3 separate regions of the Homo sapiens genome follow, and all the other regions are linked to region 3. Evidence: promoter capture Hi-C in 16 types of primary human blood cells and fetal thymus (Javierre and others, 2016). All regions are on one chromosome and are shown on one strand. The core of a region is centred on a gene start or on the middle of the fragment in contact, and the rest is flanking DNA. Distances in the headings are between cores, read along the strand shown. Region 1 overlaps ARMH3 (armadillo like helical domain containing 3). Region 2 overlaps ARMH3 (armadillo like helical domain containing 3). Region 3 holds the start of HPS6 (HPS6 biogenesis of lysosomal organelles complex 2 subunit 3).

The links. The method cuts DNA at HindIII sites, captures the fragments that hold promoters and counts their contacts. A CHiCAGO score of 5 or more calls a contact.
Region 1: a fragment that was not itself captured here is called in contact with the fragment with the promoter of HPS6 in region 3 in 1 of 17 cell types (erythroblasts); the score reaches 5.2 in erythroblasts.
Region 2: a fragment that was not itself captured here is called in contact with the fragment with the promoter of HPS6 in region 3 in 1 of 17 cell types (erythroblasts); the score reaches 5.3 in erythroblasts.

Annotation. Positions count from the first base shown.
Region 1 is chr10:101,886,015-101,890,613 of GRCh38, reverse strand. ARMH3 (armadillo like helical domain containing 3) reads left to right here. Exons shown (of 26, transcript NM_024541.3): 24 at 1,124-1,202. Among named protein-coding and RNA genes, the nearest start is that of KCNIP2, 45 kb to the right of the region's middle. The HindIII fragment of the contact is 375 bases long and covers 2,153-2,527 here.
Region 2 is chr10:101,870,198-101,874,563 of GRCh38, reverse strand. All of the region lies in intron 24 of ARMH3 (armadillo like helical domain containing 3), which reads left to right. The region is part of intron 2 of LOC101927445 (a long non-coding RNA gene); the gene reads right to left. Among named protein-coding and RNA genes, the nearest start is that of KCNIP2, 29 kb to the right of the region's middle. The HindIII fragment of the contact is 5,243 bases long and covers 227-4,366 here.
Region 3 is chr10:102,063,025-102,067,757 of GRCh38, reverse strand. It overlaps HPS6 (HPS6 biogenesis of lysosomal organelles complex 2 subunit 3), which reads right to left and starts at 2,409. Exons shown (of 1, transcript NM_024747.6): 1 at 1-2,409. The coding sequence starts at 2,283. RefSeq lists a silencer at 1,988-2,657 and an enhancer at 2,868-2,917. The HindIII fragment of the contact is 26,306 bases long and covers 1-4,733 here.

The DNA.
Region 1 (4,599 bases), core at 1,091-3,590, 180 kb after region 3:
ATAAACTTCATTTCCTATAGGGAGAAGTATCTACATATATTATTTGAAATTGTTCTATGAGAAAGATTTGTTGGCCAGCCGCTGTGGCTCATGTCTATAATCCCAGCACTTTGGGAGGTGGAGACCTGTGGATTGCTTGAGCCCAGGCTTGAGCCTGGGCGACATGGCAAAACCGTGTTTCTACCAACAAAATACAAAAATAATTAGCCGGGCATGCTGGCACATGCCTGTAGTCCCAGCTGCTAGGGAGGCTTAGGTGGGAGGATCGCTTGAGCCTGGGAGGTTAAGGATGCAGTGAGCCATGATTGTGCCACTGCATTCCAGACTTGGTAACAGAGTGACACCCTGTCTAAAATATAAATATAAATAAATATATATATATATATGAAAAAAAGAGATTTGTCTCTCTCTATGAATCATTTATATTCATATGGACTCATGTAAAACCCTGATCTAAAACCTGTGTTCTTTTTGCTACACCAGGCAAGAAATGACAAAGACCTATACCAAGGCACTGGTTTCAGGGAAATTTATTTCAGATTTCAGAGATTTTTAAGAGGTAGATTTGATAAGACTAGGTAATTTTGGATGTGACTAAGTGATGGAGAAGGGAGTGTTTTAAAATGACACTCAGCTTTTGGGTTGAATGGCCGGATATAAAATTTTGGTTTGAAACTATTTACTAACAAGTATGAAGATTGCTTCTATTTAGCCTATATGTTGTTGGCCCAGCTTTACTGAGTGCCCTGTTCTCCCAAGTCAGACAAGACAGCTTTTCTTTCTGATTGAAGCACCAGGGCCCCCTAGTGGACAGCCCTCTGGGTTCCCTTTCTCATCTGAAGGACTCAATATTTTTGTTTGGCTTTGGGTTTTTTCCGTTAGTTCATTTGCAGAGCAGAGATGCTTGATTCTATTTTCTGTCTAATAGTAAATCCTTCCCACTTCAGAGTTATCAATTCACCCCCATTTGTGACTACCTCATGTTCAATAAGAGGAAGTTACCCAGTCACAATCGGTCCCATGCTCTAGTACTCTAAACCAGAGGGTACTTGATCCTTATTTTTTAACAGATGTATCCACCTCTTCTATCTGGCACCATATTAATACGAATTCTTTGTTTCAGAGCCATCATCAACCACTTTAACCCCAAAATTGAGTCCTACGCTGCTGTGAATCACATATCCCAACTGTCAGAGGAGCAGGTAAGCCACTACTTTCCCCAGATGACCTAGTTGGTGGCTAGGATCAAGCAGTTGCCTTCTCTCTGATGGCAGGGGGATTCTGTGACTGAGCTTTTGTGGTAGTGACCAGGGCCAGGCTGCTGAGAGGAATTAGTGTGGGGTTGGTTGATAGTACTTTTAATACAGAGTGATGCTGTCTGCGTTTGTGCCATCTGAAGGGTTTGTTAATTATATAGAAGATATGTAGGTGAAAATCTGGTGAATTATTTGTTTTAGAGTGTGATAAGGCATTTCTTTTTTTAAAATTTTAGGCAGAGAGTCATTTTGATTTTTGAAAATAAGAAATGAGAACTTAGAAATGGATGAAACTGCCAATTAGAAAAACCCTGAGTTCAGCTTAATTTGAAGCTATTTGGCTCGTTAAAACATGAGCCCTCATTGGGACAGATTTTCCTTAGTAATTGAGTTCTCTTTGCCTTGAGCAATTATTTTTGAGGAGGTTTTTCTGTGGTATGGACTGAGTTAGAGATGCAGATAGCCTTGTGTCTTTGTTTTCTTTAAATCTGGCCTGATTTCCCCTTCTCCCAGAGTGCCTGCACTCAGCTCTGCATTATATAAAAGTACAGATGAGGCGTTAGCGTGGCATGGGATTGAACTTGATGTGTCAAAATGAAACTCTTGAGTCCTTTTTTAAAAAGCACTAAATAAGACATCCTATTCACATGGTTCCCTTTCCTTTTCATCCTACTCCCAAATTGGAGGGGCCAGGGTATAGACCCCAAGCCAGTAGGAAGACCATATGTGCCCTGTTCTTCCTTTTTTGCCAGTGCATCTTTGTAACCCTTGTTTGAGCTTCTTGCTGGCAGAGCCAGCCAGCCAGCTATGATTTGACCATGTGTTTCAGTGTTCCTCAAAGCTATTCAGTTCTCCCAGTGAAGCACCAAGCAAGCCTTTTTCCTAATAGACAAGCTTCTCAGTATTCCCACCAGTGGCTCTTTTCTCAGCCAGATGGATAGGACTCTATTAGTCTGTCAGTTGTTCCCTTTGACATATTTGTTCTCTTTTGTGAGCCCAGCTGTGAGAATCCATCCTCACATTTAAAACTGCTTTTATAAATGGCCTTCATTTCCTTTTTTCCTCTCTGCCTGTGGAGCTATCCTGAATCCTGTTCTTTGATGCTGTGCTGTCTGTGAGGTGCTTTGTGATGCTACCATTTTCTTGTTGGACTAGTTCACATTAATTTTACTATATCATTTTTATGCAAAATAATTCAACATCTTGAGTTTTATGCAGTAAGAGAAGGGGTGACTTTCCTACCACAGTGAGCTCTGGTTAGTCTAAAAGCTTTTTTTTTTTTTTAAAAAAAAAAAAAAGGAGACATTTACTCTGTCAGCCACGTGCAGTATTCATCCCCCAGCAGCTTGGGAAGGTCAAGCTGAAATCTTTCTCCAGCAGTAGCTGCCACAGACCAATAATAAAAATCCTTTCTGGCACACAAGGCAATCTGTGAAAGGATGATTAGCAAGCACGTGTCCTCAGCCTCCTCCAACTTCTTTCAAAGTTAAATGAAATGATGAAAGTGCCTCTCAAAAAGAGTGCGCAGGCCAGAGACGAAGCGATTTCAATGGAGAGGGATTTCATAGGAGAATGGGGAAAGGATAGCAAGATTGATTTACTTGGTCAATATGTAATTGTATACCTGCTGGGTGCGGTGGCTCACACTTGTAATCCCAGCACTTTGGGAGGCTGAGGTGGGCAGATTGCTTGAGCCCAGGAATTCAAGACCACCCTGTACCACATGGTGAAGCTGTCTCTACAAAAAAAAAAAAAAAAAAAAAAAGAGAGAGAGAGAGAAAGAAAAATTAGCCAGACGTGGTGGTGTGCACCTGTAGTCCCAGCAACTTGGGAGGCTGAGGTGGGAGCTGAGGTGAACCCAGGGAGGTTGAAGCTGCAGTAAGCTGTGATCATGCCACTGCACTCCAGCCTGGGTGACAATGAGACCCTGTCTCAAAATAATAGTAATAATAATAATTATCATTATTATTGTATACCTTCTATAATATAAGTTGTGGTGCTAAGGTAAGTGGGGATCAGTGGTGAATAATCTTAGTCATTGCTCTCATGGAGTCTTTGTGTACTCATTACCTCTTTTAATAGTCCTTTTCACTTGGGGGTTTGGAGGAGGGTGATACTATTCTGGGACCTTCTTGAGAGCCACCCTCAAAATAGTTGTTGCTTCTCTTCTCTAACTGATTTTGAAGGGTGCTAAATGACAGCATTACAGTACACTTGGTTTATTCTCAGCACTATCAGATTAGAGGTATTTGACTGCCTTGTTAATCTCCAGCATGTGTTGGAGCACTTCTCTCCCTTCACTTATGAGCATTAATGTGAATGTCACTTAATGTTAACAGTATTCATGGCCTCTCAAAGAGCTAGTTTTATGGATTGCAGTAGGGCCCTGCAGTTGTTAGCAGCAGACTGAGTAGAGAAAAAAGTCAAGAACTTAATCCTCAATAGATTCTAAAGTACCCCTAAAATAAAACCTAAAGAGCATGGATAGATGTTAAATGGAATTTGTTACATTTAGTAAGTTAGCAGAGAAGACAGGGCACTTTCCTATGTCTGCCTGCCCAGCCTGCCATTTTTTTCTGGCAAAGAGATTTGTGAATTCTTGAATTCTGACAACCCCTAGACACATTCCAGCCTCTGTTTGAGGCATTTCAAGGTGGTACTTGTAAATCCATTATTGCATATTAAACAAAGCCCAGCCTTTCACACTGGGGTTTCTTTTCAGACATCCAGAAGGTAAATGACATTTTTTTGTTAATTGTCATTGGCTTCATCATTCGTGATAAAGTTTTTAATCAGTTGATACCCTCAATGTGACTGAAGGATCATTCTTTTTTGTTTGTTTGTTTTTGAGACAGAGTCTCACTCTGTCACCCAGGCTGGAGTACAGTGGCACGATCTTGGCTCACTGCAGCCTCTGTCCCCTGGGTTCAAGCGATTCTCCTGCCTCAGCCTCCCAGGTAGCTGGGATTAGAGGTGCATGCCACCATGCCTGGCTGATTTTTGTTTTTTTTAAGTAGGGTTTCGCCATGTTTGCCAGGTTGGTCTTGAACTCCTGACCTCAAATGAGCCACCTGCTTTAGCCTCCCAAAGTGCTGGCATTACAGGCATGAGCCACTGCACCCAGCCTGGTCATACATTTTTTTAATGTAATAAACTGTATGTATTTTTATGGTATATATGCAGGTGCTATATTTGTCTGGGGTTAATTGTGAAGCTTGTTCATTTTTACCTCTTTTTTTTTTATATGTGGTAGAATATACATAACATAAAATTTACCATTTTAACCCCCTTTTTTTTTTTGAGATGGAGTCTTGCCCTTGTTGCCCAGGCTGGAGTGCAATGG
Region 2 (4,366 bases), core at 1,599-4,098, 190 kb after region 3:
CCCCAGCTGAGAATAGTTCCAGGCACTGTTGTTTGCTACCTGGAGTCAATTTAATTTGTCAGGGAGGATTATGGGGTTGTTCAGGGGTGGTGGGGAAGAGCACAATGGGAGGACTCATTAGCATTGTTGAAATACTAACTCCTAGCTTAGAGTTACTGATGTATCAGTCTGAATCATTCTTGTCCCAACCCAAAATGGAATATTAAGACCAAAAATGACACAAGCTTACTGCCCATGGCCATACATTTTTTTTTTGACTAGTCCTGATTTGCTGGACTTTTAAATTTAACTTTATTGAGGTATAATTAACATATAATAAAATATGTTTATGTAACCACCACCACAATCAAGATGTAGAACATTTCCATCACCCAAAAAATGTTCTCTTATACCACTTTGCAGTCAGTCCTCACCCCAAGTCTGGGCCATAGACAACGGCTGATATGATTATTTTCACTGTAGAGTAGATCTGTCTTTTTAAAAATTTTATATAAATAAACTAATGCAATATGTACTCTTTTATGTCTTCTTTCTGAGATTCATATACATCATGACACTCCTTGGGTGTTTACTCAAGAGAAATGAAAATATATATCCACCCAAAGATCTGTACACAGATGTTCATAGCGGTATTATTTAGGATGACCAAAAAGTAGAAACAACCTAAATGTCCATTAGCAGTTGAATGAATAAACAAAGTGTGATTCATTCATACCATGGAATATTATTCAGCCATAAAAAAAGAAGGAGGTACTGATACATGTTACAACATGGATCACTCTCAAAAACATTATGATAAGTGAAAGAAACAGTCACAAAAGACCACATATTGTGTGATTTCTTTTATTTGAAATGCCCAGAAAATCTATAGAGACAGAAAGTAGATTAGTGGTTGCTTGGGCTACAGGTGGGGAGCAGGGTGGGGAGGGACTGCTAATGAGTACGGGATTTCTTTTTGGGTTGATAAAAGTGTTTTAAACTTAGATCATGGTAATAGTTACGTAACTGTGTGAATATACTAAAATCATTGAATTGTACACTTTAAGCGAATGAATTTTATAATATATAAACTATATCTCAATAAATATGTTGAAAGAAAAAAAGAAACTGCCACGCTGGGTTTTTTGTTTGTTTTTGTTTTGTTTTGTTTTTTTGACAGAATCTTGCCCTGTCCCCCAGGCTGGAGTGCAGTGGCGCGATCTCGGCTCACTGCAACCTCTGCCTCCTGGGTTCAAATGATTCTCCTGCCTCAGCCTCCTGAGCAGTTGGGATTACAGGTGCACACTACCACGCCCAGCTAATTTTTTTTTTTTTTTGTATTTTTAGTAGAGACGGGGTTTCACTATGTTGGTCAGGCTGGTCTTGAACTCCTTACCTCATGATCCGCCCACCTCGGCCTCCCAAAGTGCTGGGATTACAGACGTGAGCCACTGTGCCCGGCCTGCCACGCTGTTTTCAAAAGTGGTTCTACCATTTCTCATTCCAATCAACGAACATACGAAAGTTCCAACTACACCATGTCTTTGCCACACTGGGAATTATGAGTCTTTAATTTTAGCCATTGGGTATGTAGTATACTTATTACAGCTTTTTTTTTTTCTTTTTTGGGATGGAGTCTTGCTATGTTACACATGCTGGCGTGCAGTGGCGTGATCTCGGCTCGCTGCAATCTTCACCTCCTGGGTTCAAGCAATTCTCCTGTCTCAGCCTCCCGAGTAGCTGGGATTACAGGCGCCTACCACCCCACCTGGCTAATTTTTGTATTTTTAGTAGAGATGGGGTTTCACCATGTTGGCCAGGCTGGTCTTGAACTCCTGACCTCAGATGATCCACCTGCCTTGGCTACCCAAAATGCTGGGATTACAGGGATGAGCCACCATGCCCAGCCACTTATTACAACTTTTTAATATTATTAGTTTTAATTTGCATGATGACTAGAGCAAGTTCAAGTGATTCTCCTGCTTCAGCCTCCTGAGTTAGCTGGGTCCACAGGTGCGTGCCACCACGTCCAGCTGATTTTTGTATTTTTAGTAGAGACGGGTTTTCACCATATTGGTCAGGCTGGTCTTGAACTCCTCACCTCAAGTGATCCACCCACCTTGGCCTCCCAAAGTGCTGGGATTACAGACATGAGCCACTGTGCCCGGCTAGAGCAGCTTTTTATGTGGCCATTATATATCTTCTTTTGTGAAGTGTCCAGATCATTTACCTATTTTTAAAATTTGGTTGTTCTTCTTTTCTTAAATTGTATTATTTATGAGTTTTTATATATTTTTGATGCAGGTTGTTACACACACACACACACACACACACGTTGTTACACAGACACACACACACACACTCTCTAAATATTTTCTCCAAGTCAGTAGCTTGCCATTTTTCTTTGCATATTCTCAGTGATGTCTTTCAAATACTAGATATTTTTAAGATCAATTTTAACTTAAGTAGATATTCATGAAGATTAATTTACTTTTTAAAGGAGTCATGCTTTTGTGTTTTATTTAATAAATCTCTGCCTACTTCTGGTTGCAAAAATGTTCATTGTACTTTCTTTTTTTCTTTTTTTTTGAGAGTCTTACTCTGTCGCCCAAGCTGGAGTGCAGTGGCACATTCTCGGCTCACTGCAACCTCTGCCTCCGGGTTCAAGCAATTCTCATGCCTCAGCCTCCTGAGCAGCTGGGATTACAAGCGTGCACCACCACACCCAGCTAATTTTTGTATATTTAGTAGAAACAGGGTTTCACCATGTTGACCAGGCTGGTCTTGAACTCCTGGCCTCAAGTGTTCCACCCACCTCGGCCTCCCAAAGTGCTGGGATTACAAGTGTGAGCCACTGTACCCGGCCTCGTTGTATTTTCTTCTGTAAGTTTTGTAATTCTGGCTTTTACATTTAGTTCTGTGATTCATTTCAAATTAACCTTTTTTATGGTGTGTGGTAAATGTTCTTTCCCCCCCGCCAAATATTCAGTTATGTTGCCATTTGTTGAAAAGACTACTCTTTCTCCATTGAGGTACTTAGGCGCATTGTAAAAAAAAATCAATTGAACATGTATGTGCAGTTTATTTCTGGACCGTCAGTTCTGTTCCATTGGTCTATACGTCTAAATTTATGGTCTACCATGTCTTGATTATTGTATGTCTATAATAAATCTTGAAATCAGCTAACCCTCTAATTTTGTTTTTTTTAAATGTTTTTGAATATTCTAGGTCCTTTCCATTTCTGTATAAAATTAGCTTGTTTCTGCAAAAAGACTGGTGAGATTTTGATTAGAATTGCATTAACTCTATAGATGACTTGGAAGAGAATTGATACTTTTAATAATACTGTTTTCATATCCATAATGGAGTAAACATAATATACCTCTCCATTTATTTAGGTCTGTTAAAATTTTTGTCAGTGTTTCGTAGTGTACTTGTTTTATGCCTATTTTGCTCAATTTATCCCTAAATATTTCATTTTTATGTCATGTAAATGGTATTTTAAATTTCAATTTCCAGTCGTTTGTTGCTAGTTTATGGAAATATACTTGTTTTTTAATTGACTTTTTTTTCCTGCATCCTTGATAAACTTATTTATTAGATTTTTGGGTTTTTTGGTTGTTTGTTTGTTGTTTGGGTTTTTTTGAGACAGGGTCTTACTCTGTCATCCAGGCTAGAGTACAGTAGCATGATCACAGCTCACTGCAGCGTCAACCTCGTCGGGCTCAGGTGATCCTCCCACTTCAGCCTCCTGAGTAGCTGGGACTACAGGCTACCAGGCCTCCCAAAGTTCATTGTTTTCTTGTGATGTCTTTGTTTGGTTTGGGTATTAGAGTAATATTGCTCTTAAAAAATGAGTTGGGGAAGTATTCCTTCCTCCCCTGTTTTTAAAAAGAGTTTGTATAGGATTGGTTTTATTTCTTGCTTAATGTTTAGTAGCATAATCAGTGAAGTCATCTGGACCTATAGTTTTCTTTGTGGGAAGAATTTATACCCAATATTTTATTAGGGAAAATTTCAAACATATAGTAAAGTTGGAAAAAATTATATGGTGAATAGCCACATAACCCTCACCTAAATTCTGTTATTTACATTTCACTCTACTTGCTTTATCACATGTATAACCCATAGGATAGATCTCCATCCATCAATCCATCTTTTTTTAATGTGTTTCAAAGTAAAATGCATATATCAGTATACTTCTGTGGAAAACATTTTAATTGTTAGTTGAATTTCTTTAATAGATTTAGGAATAGTCAGTTTACTACTTGTTCTTGAACCAGTTTTAATCATTTGTGTCTTCAAGGAAGTTATTCATTTATGTAGGTTGTTGAATTTATTGGCATAATTCGTTCATAAAATTCTCCCTGTTCCTTGAAATCCCTGT
Region 3 (4,733 bases), core at 1,160-3,659:
TAGGATGTCCTCATATGGGCTTAGAACTGGGCCCGACAGCCATCCTTGAGCCCCAGTCTGCTCCAGCAGGGCTTTGAGCAAGCCCACAGTGAGAGGGGGCTCTGCTCCAGGCTCAGGGAATGGGGTTGGGGGCCCCACCTCATCTGGGAGGTATGTCCTCAGTAGAAGCAGGAGCTCAGCTGGAGCCAGTTCTGGTGGGCACAGGCGGCAAAGGAGGGGGAGGTGAGCATCAAGCCGGCGGTGCTGGGCAAACTCGGCCAGCAGCAGTTTGAAGATTTCACTTCGAAGCAGGGGACTGGAGGGGCCGAGGGCCAGGCCAGCATCCAGAGCCCGATCCCATTGTTCCTTTTGCACCAGCTGCCCGACAGCTTGGAGCACAGCTTTAGGCCGCCCACTGCTCAAGAGCAGCTCTAGCTCCAGAGCCTCAGGCCTGGTCCCCTCCTCACCTAGCACTGCCAGAGCTCGGCGATACAGGGGCAGTCCTGGGCCCCCTGCCCCCCAGCCCGGCCCGCCCTGCTGCTGTGCCAGCTCCACAAAGGGTGGCAGCCATCGAGGCTCCAGCTGGCACAGACACTGGCACAGGAGTTCAAAGGGGGGCAGTATTCCATTGGGGGGTTCCTTTCCAGCGGTTATTCCCCCTAACACTTTCTTCCACACATCAGGGGGTGCTTGGGACCTCAGCTTGCCATTCCCATCTAGCTGGAGCTGCAGGGCCCTGAGGGTGGCACCCCAGGCTGCTGTAGGAAGGGCTTGGAAAACGGTGTTGAGCTGGGCTAGCTGGTCTCCTATCAACTCAGTCCTCAGCAGGCGTGCCACTTCCTGCTCCGCCAGCTCAGTCCAACCAGCCTCCTCATCATCCCCAGCCACCAGCTGGGCCTTCAGCTGTTCTAAGCCTCGGTAATCCCGAAGCTCGGTCCTCAACATGGTCAGCAGTGCAGATGGGGGCAGGTGGCCCTGGAGGATGGAGGCCAGAGCCTGAGGTGCCCGGAATGTGCTGCTGTGTCTCAGTTCTTCTGGAGTGAGCTGGGCACCCCGCAGGCTCCGCCGCTGGTAGTACCCGCAGGCCTCCTCAAACACCAGATCCTTGGCTGAAGGCAACTCAACACCCTGTGGGGCTTCCCAGCCCACACAAAACAGACCCAAGGCTGAAAGCAGACGAAGATTCCCTCGGGTCTCCAGCTCTTCCTCATCCTCCATGCCGGGGGCTGGCGGTTCTAGCAGATGTACCCTGTCTGTACTTAGGACCTTCCTCTCCAGCAGCTGCCCACTGCCCATGTCCAGCAGTTCCAATGTGGAGCCCAGCACACAGGCCAGAGTGCCCTGAAATGTGCCTAGGGCTGCAGACCCCCACGGGCCTACAGGTGCCTCCTGCAGGGTGCCCACAGCCCGCGTACCACCGTGGGACTGCAATAGGCTCACAGTGCCCCCGAAGTCAAGCAACAGCAGGCCCTGGGGAGTTGGGGCCCAGGTGTGTACAGCCAGTGGCTCCCTGGGGGACAGCAACCCAGGAAGGCCTCGGAGCAGGGTCCGGAAGTCCCATGTGTCCCCTCGTCCAGGATTCAGACTCTTACTGTAGGAGAGACCAAGCCGTGGGGCAGCCACCATCACTTTGCCCTTGCCTGGGCTCCAGATGAGTAGAACGTGGGCCACGCCAGGCCAGGTGGTGGCAGTGGGCACCAGGAAGAGTTGTCTGCAGGAGGCCAGCAGCCCGAAGGCAGGGCAGTGGTGCAGCAGGACGTGTGTGCGGCCCAGGCTGGTGCTAGCTTCCCCGCTGGGCTCCAGAGTCCGGACGCACACACAGTGGCTGAAAGCGGCTGCTGGCGACCCTGACGGGCCCTCGGCCCGGGCCTGCCGCTCCTCGCACCACACCAGGCGGCCTCGGAGCGCCGCCACTGCCACAACGCGGGCTCCCCCGCCCGGACACAGCTCGGTGCTCTGCAGCGGCCGCCAGCCAGGCCCCACGCCCGCGCCCCACACCTCGGCCAGGCCACTCTCCCACACCAGCACCAGCGCCGGCCGCGCTGGCCACGGCAGGAAGAAGGCGTCCAGCGGGGAGGGCTGGCCGGCCGGCCAGGCCCGCTCTAGCTCCGCGCCGGGCCCTCGCGACGCGACTAGCAGCTGTGGGGCTACCGCCCCAGGGGGTCGCAGGAGCAGCAAGTGGCGGCCGTCCGGACTGCCACGGACTCGGACCGCTGAGTCCCCGGCCACCAGCTCCCGGAGCCGCGCCGCGCCGCCGAAGGCGCTCAGGTCCGAGAGCAGCCGCAGAGTCCCCGAGCGCTTCATGGCGCCGCTGCGCGGGAGCGCGCCCAGGCTTTGCCCAGGTCCAGCCGCCCAGCAGGGCGAGGCCCGATTCTCGGGGGAGCGGAGCAGGGCCAAGACTTCCGTCTCCCGTGGATGAGGTGAGCAGAGGCCGGGCCGAGCGTCGACTCCGCCCCGCCCGGCCGGCTCCGGGATGCCTCCCGCAGTCGCTGGGCCGACACTACACGCCCGCCGGGGGAGGAGCCACGGGAGCGCCCCAGGGGCTCAGCGCCTGGACCGCGCCCGCCCGGGCACGCTCTCGGCGCAGGGGGAGGCCCTTCCCCAGACCCCAGGACGCCGCCCAGTGGCCCGGAGTCCCACGCAGGAATAGGGATTCCAGCCCCCTGAGCCCCTCTCCCAAGAATTTCACCCCAATTTACTCATTCAGGAAATTTTCGTTGAGCACATGCTTTGTGCCAGGCTCTGAGTAGACAGCCCTAAACAAAATAGAAAACCTCAACCTCATGGAGATGACAATCTAGTGGAAATAGTAAACATGGCTGGGCGCGGTGGCTCACGCCTATAATCTTAGCACTTTGGGAGGCTGAGGTGGGAGGATTGCTTGAGGCCAGGCGTTCGAGACCAGCCTGAGCAACATAGGCAGACCTTGTCTCTATAAAAATTTTAAAAAGACAGAAAGAAAGAAAGAGAGAGAGAGAGAAGGAAGGAAGGAAAGAAAACCACTTCCATATCACTATGTGACAGCCTTCTCTATCCCCTAGTCCCTTTTACAGATAAGGAGGATGAAGCACAGAGAGATTACGTAACTTAACTAAGATCAAGCAGGTATTAAGTGGTGGAGGTGGGATTTCAACCACAGGCACTCTGGCTCCAGAGTCAGTGCAACAAATCACTTTATCATATCAACAACTCATCACCCAAACCAAAACAGAGAAACATAATTTAGAAGCACTGAGCCTGTGTACCGACTCTTCAGTAACACCTACAAATTTGTATGCAGGGGTCCTTCCACCCCTTGACTGCCTTTTCAGGTGAGCAGTTTTCCTCCTCTCTCCAAGGCCAATCCCTCTTTATGAGCCCTGCCTCTCCTCCCCGGCCCCTACCTTCCTTGAGAACTTGCATCCATTTCTGTTTCACTGCCCTCATTCCGTCCTCAGCATAGAAATACCCTGTCATCTCTCCTGTCTTGGAATTCGTTCTTTCATCCTCATCTCCCCACTTCCACCTCCATCACTCCCTCCCCTTTTCCTTTCTCAGTCAATTTTCTTGCAAGGATGCTACATTTGCCACCTCCACTTTCTTTCCTTCTATCCTCAACCCACTACTTCCCTGAAGTAGCTTTTGCTGAGGTCTTCAAGGACATTTTTATTTGACAGCCTTCTCATTGAAAGTCCCTCCTGTGGTTTGCACTGCATCTTTCCTGGCTGGTTTTCCTTTCCTTTTATTTTATTTTATTTTTTTATTTTTATTTTTAGATAGCACTGCCTTCAGAGTTTTATTTGCCTTTGGTTCATCTTCCTCCATCCTTTATTGATTGATTGATTGAGATAGAGTCTCACTCTGTCGCCCACGTTTGAGTGAAGTGGCACCATCTTGGCTCAGTGCAACCTCTGCCTCCTGGGTTCAAGCGATTCTCCTGCCCAGCCTCCCGAGTAGCTGGGATTAGAGGCACCCACCACCACGCCCACCTAATTTTTGTATTTTCAGTAGAGACAGGGTTTCACCTTGCTGGCCGGGATGGTCTTGATCTCTTGACCTCGTGATCCACATGCCTTGGCCTCCCAAAGTGCTGGGATTACAGGCATGAGCCACCGTGCCTGGCCTATTTATTTATTTATTGAGACAGAGTCTTGCTCCGTTGCCCAGGTTGAAGTGCAGTGGCGCAATCTCGGCTCACTGCTATCTCCATGTCCCAGGTTCAAGCGATTCTCCTGCCTAAGCCTCCCTCCCTAGTAGCTGGGATTTCAGAAGTGCACCACCATGCCCAGCTACTTTTTATATTTTTAGTAGAGGTCGGGTTTTGCTATGTTGGTTGGCCAGGCTGGTCTCGAACTCCAGGCCTCAAGTGATCTGCCCGCCTTAGCCTCTCAAAATGTTAGAATTACAGGTGTGAGCCACTGTACCCGGCCCCTCCATCATCCTTTAAATGTGCTCTTCCTCCTATATCCTGATTCCACTTTGAGCCCCTTTATTTTTTTCTTTTGCCTACAGCTCAGACGTCTCTGCTAAGCTCCACACAAAAAAAGAGCATCCAAATGTCTACTAAATATTTATTTCTGCCTAAGATGTCTCATCTCACAGACATTTCATTCTCAACATGTCCTAAACATCATCTTCCTGCCCCAAACTGCTCCTCCTTCAGTTGCTCTTAGTTGACATAGATTTCTTTTGTTTTTGTATCCTATCCTCATATTTAGAGTAGAGCCTGACACAAAGTCTCCACAGATGTTTGGTGAAGGAATCATTACGTTTTC